Regions from separate parts of the Homo sapiens genome. Here regions 2, 3, 4 and 5 are each linked to region 1. The links are contacts of gene promoters, found by promoter capture Hi-C in human tissues and cell types (Jung and others, 2019). All regions are on one chromosome and are shown on one strand. Each heading gives the region's core, a stretch centred on a gene start or on the middle of the fragment in contact. The rest is flanking DNA. Distances are from core to core; before and after follow the strand shown. Region 1 holds the start of UTS2R (urotensin 2 receptor). Region 2 overlaps FOXK2 (forkhead box K2). Region 3 overlaps FOXK2 (forkhead box K2). Region 4 holds the start of SLC16A3 (solute carrier family 16 member 3). Region 5 has its middle 6.0 kb from the start of TRX-CAT1-8.

What was found. The method cuts DNA at HindIII sites, captures the fragments that hold promoters and counts their contacts. A contact is called where the count stands out against the background at its distance.
Region 2: a contact is called between a fragment that was not itself captured here and the fragment with the promoter of UTS2R in region 1, in 1 of the 25 tissues and cell types used here (IMR-90 fibroblasts).
Region 3: a fragment that was not itself captured here is called in contact with the fragment with the promoter of UTS2R in region 1 in 2 of the 25 tissues and cell types used here (IMR-90 fibroblasts and lymphoblastoid cells).
Region 4: the fragment with the promoter of SLC16A3 here is called in contact with the fragment with the promoter of UTS2R in region 1 in 1 of the 25 tissues and cell types used here (dorsolateral prefrontal cortex).
Region 5: a contact is called between a fragment that was not itself captured here and the fragment with the promoter of UTS2R in region 1, in 1 of the 25 tissues and cell types used here (bladder).

The regions. Positions count from the first base shown.
Region 1 is chr17:82,370,365-82,373,258 of GRCh38, forward strand. It overlaps UTS2R (urotensin 2 receptor), which reads left to right and starts at 1,401. Exons shown (of 3, transcript NM_018949.3): 1 at 1,401-1,683; 2 at 2,234-2,419. The HindIII fragment of the contact is 34,629 bases long and covers 1-2,894 here.
Region 2 is chr17:82,599,185-82,602,078 of GRCh38, forward strand. FOXK2 (forkhead box K2) reads left to right here. Exons shown (of 9, transcript NM_004514.4): 9 at 2,119-2,894. The coding sequence ends at 2,315. Among named protein-coding and RNA genes, the nearest start is that of FOXK2-AS1, 12 kb to the left of the region's middle. RefSeq lists an enhancer at 808-1,057. The HindIII fragment of the contact is 9,195 bases long and covers 1-2,894 here.
Region 3 is chr17:82,572,083-82,574,976 of GRCh38, forward strand. All of the region lies in intron 4 of FOXK2 (forkhead box K2), which reads left to right. Among named protein-coding and RNA genes, the nearest start is that of FOXK2-AS1, 15 kb to the right of the region's middle. The HindIII fragment of the contact is 5,132 bases long and covers 1-2,894 here.
Region 4 is chr17:82,227,607-82,230,500 of GRCh38, forward strand. SLC16A3 (solute carrier family 16 member 3) reads left to right here and starts at 1,436. Exons shown (of 5, transcript NM_004207.4): 1 at 1,436-1,500. RefSeq lists silencers at 492-721, 812-891, 942-1,081, 1,242-1,561, 1,682-1,841 and 1 more. The HindIII fragment of the contact is 28,829 bases long and covers 1-2,894 here.
Region 5 is chr17:82,499,307-82,502,200 of GRCh38, forward strand. No RefSeq gene overlaps it. Among named protein-coding and RNA genes, the nearest start is that of TRX-CAT1-8, 6.0 kb to the left of the region's middle. The HindIII fragment of the contact is 3,093 bases long and covers 1-2,894 here.

The sequences.
Region 1 (2,894 bases), core at 151-2,650:
TAAAAAATAAAAAACCCGGTGTTCGTGTCAGGGCAGGTCGTTTCAGCAGCTACTCGGTGAACTGGCTGAGGTGACAGCAGATCGTTTCGGCAGCTGGCTTGCGGGAAATTTAATTCTTGGAGCAGGCATTCTGGGTCCTGAGTGCTTTTCCCCAGCCCTAGCCCCTAGACTCCAGCTTAGTAATCAGCTCTCACAGAACCATCACGTCGGAGGCAGCCTTCCACCCCCTTTCCTCCCGCGCACAGGCAGGATGAGCTGCTCCCCTTTCGGGTCGGAAGCTGCAGCTGTATTTGGTTTCAGTTCGGCTGTTTTCAGCTCACAGAGAATGAACTGTCTTATTGTGTGACCCTTGCTCCGTCCAGCGGACGCTCGGAGACCAGAGGGACTTTTCCCGCCCTCTCCAGCCCAGCCTCGCCTCCCCAGCACGTGGCAAACGTCCCACGGAGGGGACTGGTGGGCATCTGGGGCTCCCCCGGATCCAGCTGATTGCAGGAGCCTCTCGGCCATTCACACTTGGCCACCTCCTCTCCCCCAGCAGAACCCCTTCAGCTTTAGGGGCCGGTCCGCGGCCTCAGGCAGCAGATGAGCCCCGGGCGGAGTGGAGTGGGCGAGGCCAGCTCCTCGCTGGGGGCCCTTTAGACCCCGTGTTCACAGCTCTCCAGCTCTCCTCTAGTCTAATTTATTAATGTTCTGTGTCTTTTTCTTTCAGGGGTTCAGCATGAGTGAAGGCCCACATCCTACCTCCGAGCAGCAAGTGAAACCGAGTGGGGGCCAGCACCCAGCTCAGGGGCTCGAGGGTGAGGCTGTGGGGTCCTTCCTCCTACCCCGCGGGGCCCTGCAGCTCCCAGCGTCACTTCCGTGGATGTGGCCACCACGAGTCCCTGCCGAGGCCTGGAGAGGCTGCGTGGGCTTCTAAGAGCATCTGTGGGAGACCCGCAACAGGGGCGGGGTCAAGGCCCCCAAAGAGCCCGTCCCCGCCTGGGCGGGTGACTCCCTCCCTCCCTTACCTCCTTTCTATGACCCTCTCGGGGTTTAGGGGTGTTCCTGCCCCCCACCTGCGCGCGGGCGGGTCCAGGGCTTGGTGGACACGGAGAATCCCAGGCTCCGTGCCCTGCAAACACGGGCGTGAGGGGCGCAGGGGTGAACGCTGGAGGCGGAGAACCCAAGAGGGGCTGCGGGGTCAGCCTTGGGGCAGCCGGGCTGGAGGCAGCTTCGCTCCGCAGACGCAGACGCGAGACCCGCCTGGGACCCTCCGCCGACCCCGCTGCGGCCCCGCGACCCCCGCGTCTTCCCGGCGCCGCGCGGTCAGCGCCGCCCCCTAGACACCCGGCGCCGTCCCCTCCGCGCGCCTGCTGCCCGCTGGGGTTATTTTAATACCGGGCCCTGGCGCGGGGCGCGGCGCATTCCCAGCTGGCGGCGGGCAGGTGGCGGCGGCGCAGAGACCCGGCGCGGGGCGGGGGGCGCGGCTTTGGTGGCGGGACTGGCGGGCGCCCCTGCCGTGTGCTCTGGAAGCCGAGGCCACCGCGGAGCCCCTCGCGCCCCCTCTGCGCTGGGACAGGGGAGCGCGCCTCGGAAAGTTCCCCGCGGCCCCGCTGCGCGAGGAGTTTGGAGCCGCGAGCGGCTGCCCCCACGCGCGACCCCAGGCTCGGCGGGCAGGTCTGGCCGCTCAGTGACCGGAGGCAGGTGGGTCCTCGGTGGGTGACCGGGAGCGCGCGGGGACTGCCGGGTCTGTGCCCTTCGGGGCCCTCCGCAGGGCTGGGCCGGGGTTTCGCGGTGGGAACCCACCCTGGGCGAGGGGAGCGGGGTCCAGCGAGGCGGCTTCTCCCGTGCCGTGGAACTTTCGGCCCCTCCCCTTCCCCCCTAGCGACCCTGGAGCAATCCTAGCGGCCCGGCGGCCGCTGTCCCCCTGCCCGTGACTCGGGCTCGCGCACAACTGGGGAGCCCGGTGCACCCTCGGCTTCTGCGCCGTCCCCTGGGTGAGGGCTCTGGAAATGCCCTGGGTGGGGGCAGCAAGGGGGTGAGGGTCCCCTGGACAGATGGAGCTGGGAGCTGCTCGGCCTGGTGGGAAAGGGCGGACAGGGCACATTTCCAGGCCCTGGAAGGCCCCCAGCGCCCCCACCTGTTGACAACTCCCCACCCCAGCCAAGACTGCTCCCTGCGCAGCCATGAGTGTTCGGCCTAAATTCAGCGTGGCTCGTGGAATCAGGCAGCCTCCTGTGTCTTGTTTCTTCAGCCCACCACCGCGCTGTTTCATCCAGGCTGCTGACCCCAGCGGCGACTCCTTCACTGGCTTCATGTCACAGTTTGCCTGCCCCGTCCACTGGGGACATTTGAGCTGTTTCCAGCTTCTTAGGAGTCAAGCTGCCGTGAACTTTCGCACGCTTGTCATTTTCTGAACGTTGGCAGCCCTTTATCTAAGGTACTAACCTGAGAGTAGAATTGCCGGGTGAGAAGGTATAGGCGGTCAACTCTGCAAATCGTGCCAATGGCTTTCCAAAGCGGCGGCACAGTCCAGGTTCCCAGCAACAGGAAACGGCAGGGCCAGCTCCTCCACAGCCCCCACGCCTGTTGACAAGGATATCTGCCTTTTCACGCGTTCATCCTTGTCAGCACGCAGGGGCTCCTGTGGCCCTGACTGGCATTTCCCTGCTTGTTGGCTGCGTGGGTGTCCTTTTCAGGAAGTCCCCGGTCACGGTTTTGGTCTCTTTTTTTCAAATGGGTTGTTTGTCTTTTCCTTACTAATTTGCAGTTCTTCCCTATATTTTTCTTACCAGCTTTTTGTCTATGTTTCTTCTTTTTTTTTTTCTCTGAGACAAAGTCTCACTTTGTTGCCCAGGCTGGAGTGCGGTGGCACAATCTCAATCTTGGCTCACTGCAACTTCCACCTCCCGAGT
Region 2 (2,894 bases), core at 266-2,765, 230 kb after region 1:
CCTCCTGGGTTCAAGTGATTCTCCTGCCTCAGCCTCCCGAGTAGTTGGGACTATAGGCCCCCACCACCTTGCCCGGCTAATGTTTTTGTATTTTTAGTAGAGATGGTGTTTCACCATGCTGGCCAGTTCGAGACTGGTCTTGAACTCGTAACCTCAGGTGATCCTCTCGCCTCAGCCTTCCAAAGTGCTGGGATTACAGGCGTGAGCCACCGCACCTGGCCTCTTGTTCATGTTTTATGTGTAAATTGGTCCTCTGCTATTTCTGTTGCTCAGAGGTGGAAAGGAGAAGGGAACACGATAAAGTCACACATCCACACTGTTGACAGGGGTTTGGCTTCCAGGGAACACACCTCTGTGGCCTCAGGGCTATGTCCTGAATTCTAAAACGGGGCTCTCACGGCTGACCCGATGTCACTGGGTCCCCGTTTGCTGCTTGAGTCTCTTCGGAGCCCAGTGTTGACTCCCGCTCTTCGTGGCTGCCCCGGCTATCTGGCCATGAGGAGCTGACCACGCACCTGGCCGGACTCACATCCGCTCCGCTAGGGAAGACCTGGGGGCGGAGGTCGGTCTCTGACCAGCCAGCGTCCCTGCAGGGGACTGCGAGTAGGAGGCGGGTATTGCCCACGCCAGGGCCTGTGGTCTGAGAGGGCTGGCCCTTGACGGACAGGTGGGCAAGTCCCCCTCCCACATCTCTAGGCACCAGGGCGTAGCGTACCATGTGTGCTGTGTTTGTGGTTGGGTTCAGGTACTGCCCTGTAGGCGTGTCTGCTCTGAGCCTCCTGGGACAGCCTGAAGTGGTTGCTGCACAGCTGCTTTGGGGCCTCCCAGGGGTGTGTTCCTGCTCCCACCCTGGGGTGCTCTGAGTTGGTCTTGGGTTAGAGAAGTGCAGTGGCTGGTGTGTGCGCAGCCTAGGGGCCTAGGACCTGCTTCTCAGAGCATCACGGGGCCCACCAAGAAGTGCCCCCTGGGGAGGTGACAGCGTCTTCCAGAAATGCCGCCGCCCACAAGGAGGACTGGCCTGTGCCGGAAGCTGGAGATGGTGGGGTCCTGATGGCACCTGGTAGGTGAGGGTGCCCCAGAGAAACAGAGCCAAGGCGGCGGCCTGGAGACAGATTCTGTGGAATCTGCCCACTCTGTTGTGGGGCCTGCCAAGCTCAGCATCTGCAGGGTGGACCGAACCCCGGGGAAAGAGTCAGTGCTGGATTCTCAAGAGTCCAGAGGCCATCCAGGGCAGAGTGCTCCCCTCAGAGGACCTCAGTCTTTTCTTAGTCCTTCACCTGATTGGATGAGGCCCACCCACTCATGGCGATCAGCTGATTTACTCAGAGCTGACTGATTTAAATGTTAATTTCATCTAAAGAAGTAACTATACAGAAACATCCAGATTAATGGTTGACCAAAATCTGGGCACTGTGGCTCAGCCAGGCTGGCACATAACATTACCCATCGCATGTTAGTTGGAAGCTTGGCCTTTGGAATTAACTCAGCCTGGTCAGCCGTTAGCAGCCAGCAGTCTCTGTTCTGCCCACACACCTCTGTGGACTGACCCAGGACACAGGTGAGCAGCATCCATGAGAAACTGTGGTGCTTCTCTCCTATGGGACAGATGGAGCCCCGCTCCCTTCTGTGTGGAAATGGTCCAGGAGCATCTTGTGCGGGTGGTGGGGGGGCGAGGGCAGGGCCTCCGCATGAGGGAGAGCAGCGAGCGGCAGCCACTCCTTCGCCGAGCCAGCAGGGCCATCTCCTGTCTGCCTCAACCACTACTGGACTCAGCCTTTCTCCCCCAGCAGTGACATCAAAATAGCCTATTTATAGGACATAACAAAGATGATGCCAGCTGTTAATAAAAATGTCCGCTAATCAGGCAGTTCACTTGCTGCAGTTTTTTGGGGTCCCAAGGGCCCAGCCCAGGCTCCTGTGCCCTTGGCCACCGTGGGCCAGTCCCTGGGGTCTTGTGGGAGCCTCCGCGGGCCTGGGAGTGGCAGGACCCTTAGAGGGCGAGAGTTCACATGAGAGCGTGGGGTTCTGACTCGCGAGGGTTCACGTGAGAGCGTGGGGTTCTGAGTCGCGAGGGTTCACGTGAGAGCGTGGGGTTCTGACTCCCTCGTGTCATTTCAGCCGCGGCGAGTCCTTTGCACATGTTGGCAACACACGCATCCGCATCGGCCTCCCTGCCCACAAAGCGCCACAACGGTGACCAGCCGGAGCAGCCGGAGCTGAAGCGGATCAAGACAGAAGACGGCGAGGGCATCGTCATTGCCCTGAGCGTGGACACGCCACCGGCAGCCGTAAGGGAAAAGGGTGTCCAGAACTAGCGACCGGGAGAGCTTTTCTTTAACGATATCAACTCTGTGGTGCCAAAAGGAGACGCGGCCTCCCGCCAGCACTCGGGGGTGCAGGGCCCTGTGGTTGGACTTCACCTCTCAGCACTGAAAACCCAAAACCCAGCTGGCCTTAACACTCCTTAAAGACAGAAGTCACACTTGAACAAAACCCACACACAACAAAACCTGATTTGGGAGACGGTGTCTCCACTGAGCACCTGCTGGGCTGAGCTTCTACCTACGAGTGAAACTCTGTCCTCCCGCGAGGACCAGGCATCGCTGTGTGAGGACGGCACGGCCAGCGCCTGCTGTGAGTGGGTCTCCCAAGACTAGGCCTCAGGACGCGGGGGGAGCCATCCCCGCCGCCCTCACAGGACCCACCAGGCAGCGGAGACATGTGGAATTAGAGTATTTTGAGGTGTCCTTTCTTTACAAAATAATGGGGTCTTGGGCATTTCACATCACTCCATTTCTACTGAGACTTTCAGAATCACACAGGCCCTTTCCGTGGATTTCATTTGGGGCAAAGAAACAACGTAGTTTTGTTTTTGTTTTCAGCCTATGGAATGA
Region 3 (2,894 bases), core at 216-2,715, 200 kb after region 1:
CGTCTAGGCCTGCATGCTTTACTGTTGTGGAAATTCATGTGTCTGCATAGGATTTGTGAAGTGTGGATTGTTTGAGATATTTCCCTTTGACCAATGCAGTTCATATTTGAAATGTAGGAGAAATTTAAAACCCAGCCTATCCTTCCCTTTGGCATTCTCCTGTCTTCCTCATCTAATCCTGCTAATGGACAGAAGTTTTGAAGTTTGCAGAGACAGTTTTCAAACCGCATTTTACCAAGGAACACTTAGAAGACATCTTAACCAGTTGGCCGGGGTAAAAAACAGATGAACGTGGTGTGCCCTGTCTCAGCCGGGGAGCCCACCTGGTCGTGGAACCCCGGGGCTACCCCCAAGAGACACTTTGAAATCTGCAAAATATTCCCTTTGGTCAGCTCACACACCAATAATTTTTTTTTTTTTTTTTGAGTCAGAGTCTCGCTCTGTTATGCCAATAATTTTAACCCTTTAGATTATGTAGGTTTTTTCTCTGTGTATCTGTGTTGTGTTGGCTGTTTACTGGATGTATATGAGAATCTTGCTATTTGAAATAATTTGGCAGTGGGTAGGTTTGAAATATAGAATATTAAAAACATAGAGAAGAAATGTATGTATGCTTATAGTTTTTTAATTCATTAAGTAACCAGGAACATCTATAGAATTTCTTTGAGGCTTTAATGAGTAAATGATCCTTTAAAAAAACATCTAAACTACATGGCTTAGTGGTAAGGATGGTGCAGGGGCAACTGTTTTCTATTTATTGAAGGGGAAAAACCTTTTTTGTTTTAACCACAGATGTATAAACATGTTATGTTAAAAAATAGCCTACCGGCCGGGCACAGTAACTCATGCCTATAATTCTAGCACTTTGAGAGCCGAGGCAGGTGGATCGCGTGACTCTAGGATTTCGAGAGCAGCCTGGGCAACATGGCGAGACCCTGTCTCTACAAAAAATAAAAAAAAATTAGCTGAGTGTGGTGGCTTACGCTTGTAGTCCCAGCTACTCCAGAGGCTGAGGTGGGAGGATCACCTGAGCCCAGGAAGCAGAGGTTACAGATATCTGTGATCACACCACTGCACTCCAGCCTGGGTGACAGAGCAAGACCCTGTCTCAAAAAGGAAAAAAAAAGCCTACCAGCCACGTCTTCCATATTTCCTTTGTGGAGGGGCTTGGGGGTCTTTAATCATGGAAGGTACAGAATGAGACCCAGCCTCCCCTCTGGCCCACCTTGTGCCCACCCCCCATACCTGGAGTGTCTATACCCTGTCCTGCCTGCCTTCCTGTCTACAGCAAGGGGGTATCTCTTAATTGACCATTAGGAAAATGCTGGATTTGGAGAGTAGTTCCATATTCAGTTACATGTCAGGGTCTCTTAACATATTGCATGCTAAATTCTGGCCGTATTTACTCTATAAAACTGAGGCTGTGCTTCAAACTATATACATACACACACACACTCTCTCTCTCTCTCTCTCTCTCTCTCACACACACACACACACACACACACACACACACACACAACCAGATAATAACTTCTACCCATGTTCCAGTGACCATGGCTTTATGGCTTTGTCAAGGAGAGAAACTCCACATGGGGTCCAGCTTGCTCTGTGGGAGTGTGTGAGGGTCCCTCAGAGTTTACAGCTTATTCTGATGGTTTGAGATACCAGTTACCTGGGGCTTTGTCAGTGTGTTTCTAAGAAGCTTTATTAGACTCTAATGTGTTTCTCTTAAGTGGTATTTCTGTGTGTTTTTTCTAACATCCATTTATTTGAGAACTACCTATGAACAGGACAAGGCTTTCTTGCTAAAGAGGGTGGCTGGATAAAGGCCTGGCCTCAGTTTTGGGGGGGCCCAAGTCAGGACAGGTCTTTTGGGGAGCAGAGCCCTTGGAGCAAGGCTCTCCTGGACCACAGTCGTGAAGTGGCGAGGACCCCACGGGACCCCTCATGCATGCCCTGCTTTCTGTCGTCTATTGCAGGTGCCTGCACAGCTCACGTCGGCAGGGAATGACAGACTAGCACACGTCAGGCACCCTTCTCTGCTGAACTGCTATTAAACTTGTTTCTGTTGAAACATTTTCTCTCCTGTCTAGATGGAGGTCTGTAAGTCTACAGCTGCATCTCTTTCCCCAGTAAGGCCACTCCTGTGTCATTTCATGCCTCGTGGCTCCAGCTAATTAAGCGGGAGAGGGATTAGTTTCTCCAGATTCCTCCTAGTTCATGGACATTACTCTCTCTCTTTTTTTTTTTTTTTTGAGATAGAGTTTTGCTCTTGTTGCCCAGGCTGGAGTGCAATGGCGCGATCTCGGCTCACTGCAACCTCCGCCTCCCAGGTTCAAGCGATTCTCCTGCCTCAGCCTCATGAGTAGCTGGGACTACAGGCTTGAGCCACCACACCCGGCTAATTTTGTATTTTTAGCAGAGACGGGGTTCCTCCATGTTGGTCAGGCTGGTGTTGAACTCCCGACCTCGGGTGATCTGCCTGCCTCGGTCTCCCGAAGTGCTGGGATTACAGGCGTGAGCCACCGCGCCTGGCCAATGTACTTTGAATTTCTTTCTGTCCTCAGCTGTACCCTTGGCTGTCAGAATACTGACCCTCACGGGCTCTTCCTGTGCCATGAGATTCTCTGAGCCGCCCTTCCCAGTGCCTCAGACCTTATTCTGACTTCCTCCCTCCTGGCTTACAACAAAAGCCAGGTGTTTTGTATTGTCTACCTATGGTATAGCTTTTTGGTCAATCCACAGAGGACATCTGAGGGTGAAATGAGATGGTCTGAGGAATCCTATTTGAAAAGATGCCATATGTCTTTCTTTTGTTTGCATTTACGTCCTATGATTTGATTTTTTCATGGTACAAAAGTATTTAATAAGTGACACTTCAGTACAGAAAACAC
Region 4 (2,894 bases), core at 186-2,685, 140 kb before region 1:
CCTGGGCGGGAGCACCACCTGCCCTGGGCGGGAGCACCACCTGCCCTGGGCGGGAGCACCACCTGCCCTGGGCGGGAGCAGCACGGGCCAACTAAGTAGAGTCTTCATCTGTGAAGTTGGAGGCCCCCTCACCACTTGCCACAGGCCTGTGTTCTGCTCACAGGCACGTGCCCTCATCTTGATGTTTGGGGATGGGGGTGGTTGGGCCCCAGGTAGGGGTGAGGGCCAGACCCAGCCTCTGTGAATGCCAGCGGGAGGGTGGGCTTGTAACATTACATAGAAAGAACAGGCGGCCTTACTGGACCTGATGTCCCGCAAGGCTGGGCTGCAGATGGAGAGCCAAGGCCCACACGGCCTCACTGTCAGGGGTGGCCTCCCCTTGCCCTCTGGAGGGGTCCTCCATTGATACCCCCTGCCTCCTTTGTGTGTGAAGGCACGGGCTTACCAGTGCCTCGGTCCCCGAAGCCCCCGGGTCCGGGAGGGGCCAGTTAAAGCATTCCTGTGGCCCTGGCAGGGTGGCCCTGACAACTAGACTCCTTGGTCCAGGCCAACAAAGGCCTTACTCCCTGGAGCCACCTCAAACCTCAGCACCCAAAGCGGCCCGTTATTTCCATGTTGCAAATGAGAGAAAACAGGCTGGGAGAAGCACCTCACGAGGTCCAGCGGGTGGGCAGCCCTCGCCTCCCCGAAGGTGGGAGCCGCCCCGGCCTCCGCGTCGGGTTCTGGGCCGCGAGAGGGGCGGGGCAGGGGCGCAGGGCTGGAGTCGGTGGCTTTGTAGGGCCCCGCAGGGCGCGGAGCCACCTGGGGAAACGGAAGTTCAGGGAGGGCGAGGCCGTGCCCCACATCCAGGCAGCGCAGGCCGCGGGCCGCTCCCCTAGCCAGGAAGAGCCGCCGTCCGCACCGGGACCGGAGAGGAAGCGGAGGTCTGAAGGGGGACAGGTCGGACGTGGCCTCAGAGAGGGAGGATGTGGGCCCCGGAGCTGAGCCAGGCGGCCGGAACCCCACGGGACCCGCGCGCACCTCCCCACCAAAGGGGCCCCGGCGTTGGGGGGCGAGGGGTCGCTGCCCTGGAGGACGTTGGGACCTGCCGCGCTGCGCTCCGAGGCGGGGAAACGGAGGGACGGCGGGGCGGAGGGGCGAAGCGAGCCTGGACTCCGGGGGAGGCGAGGCCGGGAAGACCCAGTCCCGAGGAGCAGAGGGGGCGGGCCAGCTCCGGGCCGGGGGCGCCGACGGGGCCGGTTCCGGTTGGGGGGGTCCCTGGGCCCGGCGGGGTTGCGGGACGCGCCGTCGGGGAGCTGCGGCCCGGGAGCCCGTCCGGAGGCGGCGCGGGGTCCGGGCGGGGCGCGCAGGGGCGGCGCCAGGCGGTGACGTGCGCGGGGGACGTGCCGCGCCAGCGACCCGAGCACTTAAAGTCGCCCCCGGCGCGGAGCGGACCGGCAGAGGCGGGCAGAGGCGGCGAGAGGCGGCGAGAGGCGGGCTGAGGCGGCCCAGCGGCGGCAGGTAGGCGCGGCCGCGATGCTCGCGCGCGGGCCGGGGCCCAGGAGCTCCCCCGTGCCGGGCAAGGGGGCGACCTCGGGGTCCGCGCTCTCACCCCCACCCCGCCCACTTTGTCCATCAGGTCCGGGGGCGCCCGGGGCATGGACTAGCCTTCTCGACCCCGAGCGGGCCCCACCGAGGGCTCCCGAGAGCCAGCCGCGCCCCTCCGCGCCCTCGCATACCTGGCTGCCCAGTCTCGTCTCCCCCGGTCCGGCCCGGCGCCCACCCGTCGGGCTGCCCTCAGGGGCTGGGCTCGGGCCAGGAGATGGCTGCGCCGGCGGCCAAGCCCGGTCCGGGTATAAATAGCTCGGTCCGCGGTGGCGGGGGGCGCGGGCTATATTTGGTGGGGCTGCTGCAGCCCTCCCTGTATGGGTGGCCTCCCCGAGGGAGTGGGGAGCACTTGCGCTCGGGCCGTGGCGCTTTCCCCTGTTCGCAACACCCTGAACACTCCCCGACCCACACCCGCCCTTGGGCAATGACTAACAGCCCGAGACCGTGCAGGGAAGTGGGGGACCCTCTCCAGAGCCAGGCTGGGCTCCCTGGGTTCGCCCTACCTCCACCCCTGGCCCCCAGCTCGTGGGAAAACCAGGCGCAGCCTTTGGTAGCCTCCCACTTCCTAACCCACGCCTCAGTTTCCCTATACGAAAAGTGGGTTGGTCAGGAGCCTCCCTGGGTGTTGGGCCAGTCAAGAGACAGGAGCCGCAGAGTGGAAGGGAAGCCCTTAGCTCTGGCCGGGGCCTCCAGGGGTGGCTGGAGTCGGTGAGGGACGATGGGGGGAGCCGAGGGGCGGCTGTCCTCCTCTCTGTCCCAGAGGCATGGGCTGAAAGGGTCCCTCTCCTGGTGATGGCCAGAGTCAGGCCTGCTGGGCGGGAAATGGCAGTTGGCCCACCCCAAGGCCCAGGGGCTTGTCCATGCTGAGCACAAGGGTGGGAGGTCTTGTGTCTGTTGGGGCCGGGGAGTCCAAGGTCCCAGCTTCACTGCACAGGCCTGGAAGTCAGGTGGGTGCTGGCCTGACCCTGCTGAAGGAGGGTCTATTCCGCCAGCGTGGTGTGGAGGCGGCTGGGCTCGACTCCCTCATGGAGGGAAGGAACTGAGGAGGTGCTAGGAGGCCGTGGGGGGGTGTCTGCCCCCAGAGAGGCTTTGAGTGCATGGGGGCTCTGCCGTGGCACGTGCAGCGTCTGTCCCCCAGGGCCCCATGGTGTGGACAGAGTCTGGGGTGGGCACCTGGAGGCCTGGTCTCAAGGCAGGCTTGGTAACGACCCCATGTGACCTTGGGCAGGGCCCGCCATCCAGGCCACCCAGAAAGCCATGTGGCCTGCACGATCAGGCCAGACCCCACTGACTGGAGCGGGGCACTT
Region 5 (2,894 bases), core at 211-2,710, 130 kb after region 1:
AGCCCAGTGTGTGTCCTGCTGACTGGACCAGCTGTGGTTTTCCTGTCTGTGACCTTCAGCTCCCTTCTGCATCTTTGCTTTCTGTTTGGTGTGTTCTCTCATAATGTCTGTATCGTCATTTTCATTCTCCATATTTTTTTAGTTACGACGATTCTTTTCCTTCATGGTTTTGACCATTAGTGTTTTTAATTTCTGTTGTGATACAGTACTTTGTCTTGAGCTCCACAATTGTGTAATAAAATAACAATACACTGGCCGGATGCGGTGGCTCACGCCTGTAATCCCAGTACTTTGGGAGGCTGAGGTGGGCGGATCACGAGGTCAGGAGATCGAGACCATCCTGGCTAACACAATGAAACCCCATCTCTACTAAAAATACAAAAAATTCACCGGGCGCGGTGGCTCACGCCTGTAATCCCAGCACTTTGGGAGGCCAAGGCAGGCGGATCGTGAGGTCAGGAGATCAAGACCATCCTGGCTAACGTGGTGAAACCCCGTCTCTACTAAAAATACAAAAAATTAGCTGGGTGTGGTGGTGGATGCCTGTAGTTCCAGCTACTTGGGAGGCTGAGGCAGGAGAATGGCGTGAACCCGGGAGGCGGAGCTTGCAGTGAGCCCAGATCACGCCACTGCACTCCAGCCTGGGCGACAGAGCGAGGCTCCGTCTCAAAAAAAAAAAAAAAAAAATACAAAAATTTAGCCGGGCATGGTGGCATGCGCCTGTCGTCCCAGCTACTCGGGAGGCTGAAGCAGGAGAATCGCTTGAACCTAGGAAGTGGAGGTTGCAGTGAGCAGAGATCATGTCACTGCACTCCAGCCTGGGCGACAGACAGAGACTCCATCAATAAATAAACAAAATAACAATACACCACACATACTGACTTGCGAGTGTGTGAAGGGGTTCTGTCCTGAGAACACACATCTCTTCAGCTACTTTTGCTGTGTTATTAGCAATTTGTGTGTTATTTCTTCTGGAACTTCCAGAATTTCTCAGGACAATTGCATATGTTTCAGATGTGCAAAGCCTTGATGTGACTTCACACTCCAGGGATCACAGTTGGTGCTGCCACAGGCGTGTGCCCTGCAAGCACAGGCATTCCAAGAAATGGTTCACTGCAGCAAAATTTCTGCTGTGGGGCAGGGACCAGCTCCATAGAATCTGCCCTCCAGGAGGGATTTCCCATCCTGACCAGCATTCAAGAGTAGGTTCTCTGCTCACACTATGGGAGTCAGATGTTCGGAGAATGTTCCAGACTGTGTGTTGGGAAGTATTTCAAAGCTTGATCTCCCCAAGCCTTGTGTGCTCCTCTTGCCTGGGGCTAGTGGTCAGGAGCCCCGTGGGTCAATTTCTGGCCAGGTGAGCACGTGGCAGCTGGCCATAGCATAGCTGGGTCGAAGGGACTGCAGAGCCCAGCACAACCCCCATGCCTCCTCCAGTGCTTCCCCAGGAGGCAGGGTGGACACTGCCCTACCTGGGGCCCTATGGCTGGGCCTCAGATCTTCCCAGCCAGCCTCTTTGGCCAGGTGAACTCAAACTCCTGGACTCCAGGGATCATCCCACCTCAGCCTCGTGAGTAGCTGGGACTACAGGCATGAGCCACTGTGCCCAGCCAAAAAAAAAATTTTTTTTTTTTTTTTGAGAGGGAGTCTTACTCTGTCGCCCAAGCTGGAGTGCAGTGGTGTGATCTCGGCTCACTGCAACTTCCACCTCCCAGGTTGAAGCGATTCTCCTGCCTCAGCCTCCCGAGTAGCTGGGATTACAGGTGCTCACCACCACGCCCGGCTAATTTTTGTATTTTTAGTAGAGACGAGGTTTCACCGTGTTGGCCAGGCTGGTCTCGAACTCCTGACCTCAAATGATCCACCCTCCTCGGCCTCCCAAAGTGCTAGGATTACAGGCATAAGCCACTGCGCCCAGCCAAAAGATTTTTCTAAAATTATGGCTGTGGAGGTGTGGAGTCACTGGTAGCAGGAGCAAGAGGTGTAGACTTGATCATGCAGTGTTGGCAATAGCCAGTGGAGACCTGGGTCCCAGGTCCTGCCTCCCCACCCTCTACCTCCACCCCCAGTGGAGGCAAAGACCTTGACTCTCAGTCTCCAGCTTTCTTCCCTCTACCAAGTCCCCTAGCCTGGACACTCACATTCTCTGATTCTGTAGACAGCGGGGACTAAAAAACCTGTGCTGTGATCATGGTTAGTCAACCCATGAAAAGATGCACAGGCCGGGCACGGTGGCTCTCGCCTGCAACCCCAGGACTTCGGGAGGCCAAGGCTGGCGGATCACTTCAGGCCAGGAGTTTGAGACCAGACTGGGCAGCATGGCAAAACCGCATCTGTACAAAAAATACAAAATTTAGCCGAGCGTGGTGGTGCACACCTGTAGTCCCAGCTACTTGGGAGGCTGAGGTGGGAGGACTGCTTGAACCTGGGAGGTTGAGGCTGCAGTATGCCGAGATCGTACCACTACTACACTCCAGCCAGGGTGACAGAGTAAGACCATGTCTCCAAAAAAAAAAGATACCCAGCATAACACCACAATGAGATGCCACCACGTACCCACTGGAGTGACTGTGATGAAAGAAAAGGGTGGTCATGGCCGGGTGCGGTGGCTCACCCCTGTAACCCCAGCACTTTGGGAGGCTGAGGCGGGCGGATCACCTGAGGTCAGGAGCTCGAGACCAGTCTGGCAACATGGTGAAACCCCGTCTCTATTAAAAATACAAAAATTAGCTGGGCTTGGTAGTGGGTGCCTGTAATCCCAGCTACTCGGGAGGTTGAGGCAGGAGAATCGCTTGAACTCAGGAGGCAGAGGTTGCAGTGAGCTGAGATTGCACCACTGCCCTCCAGCCTGGGCAACAAGAGCAAAACTCCATCTCAAAAAAAAAGAAGTGTGG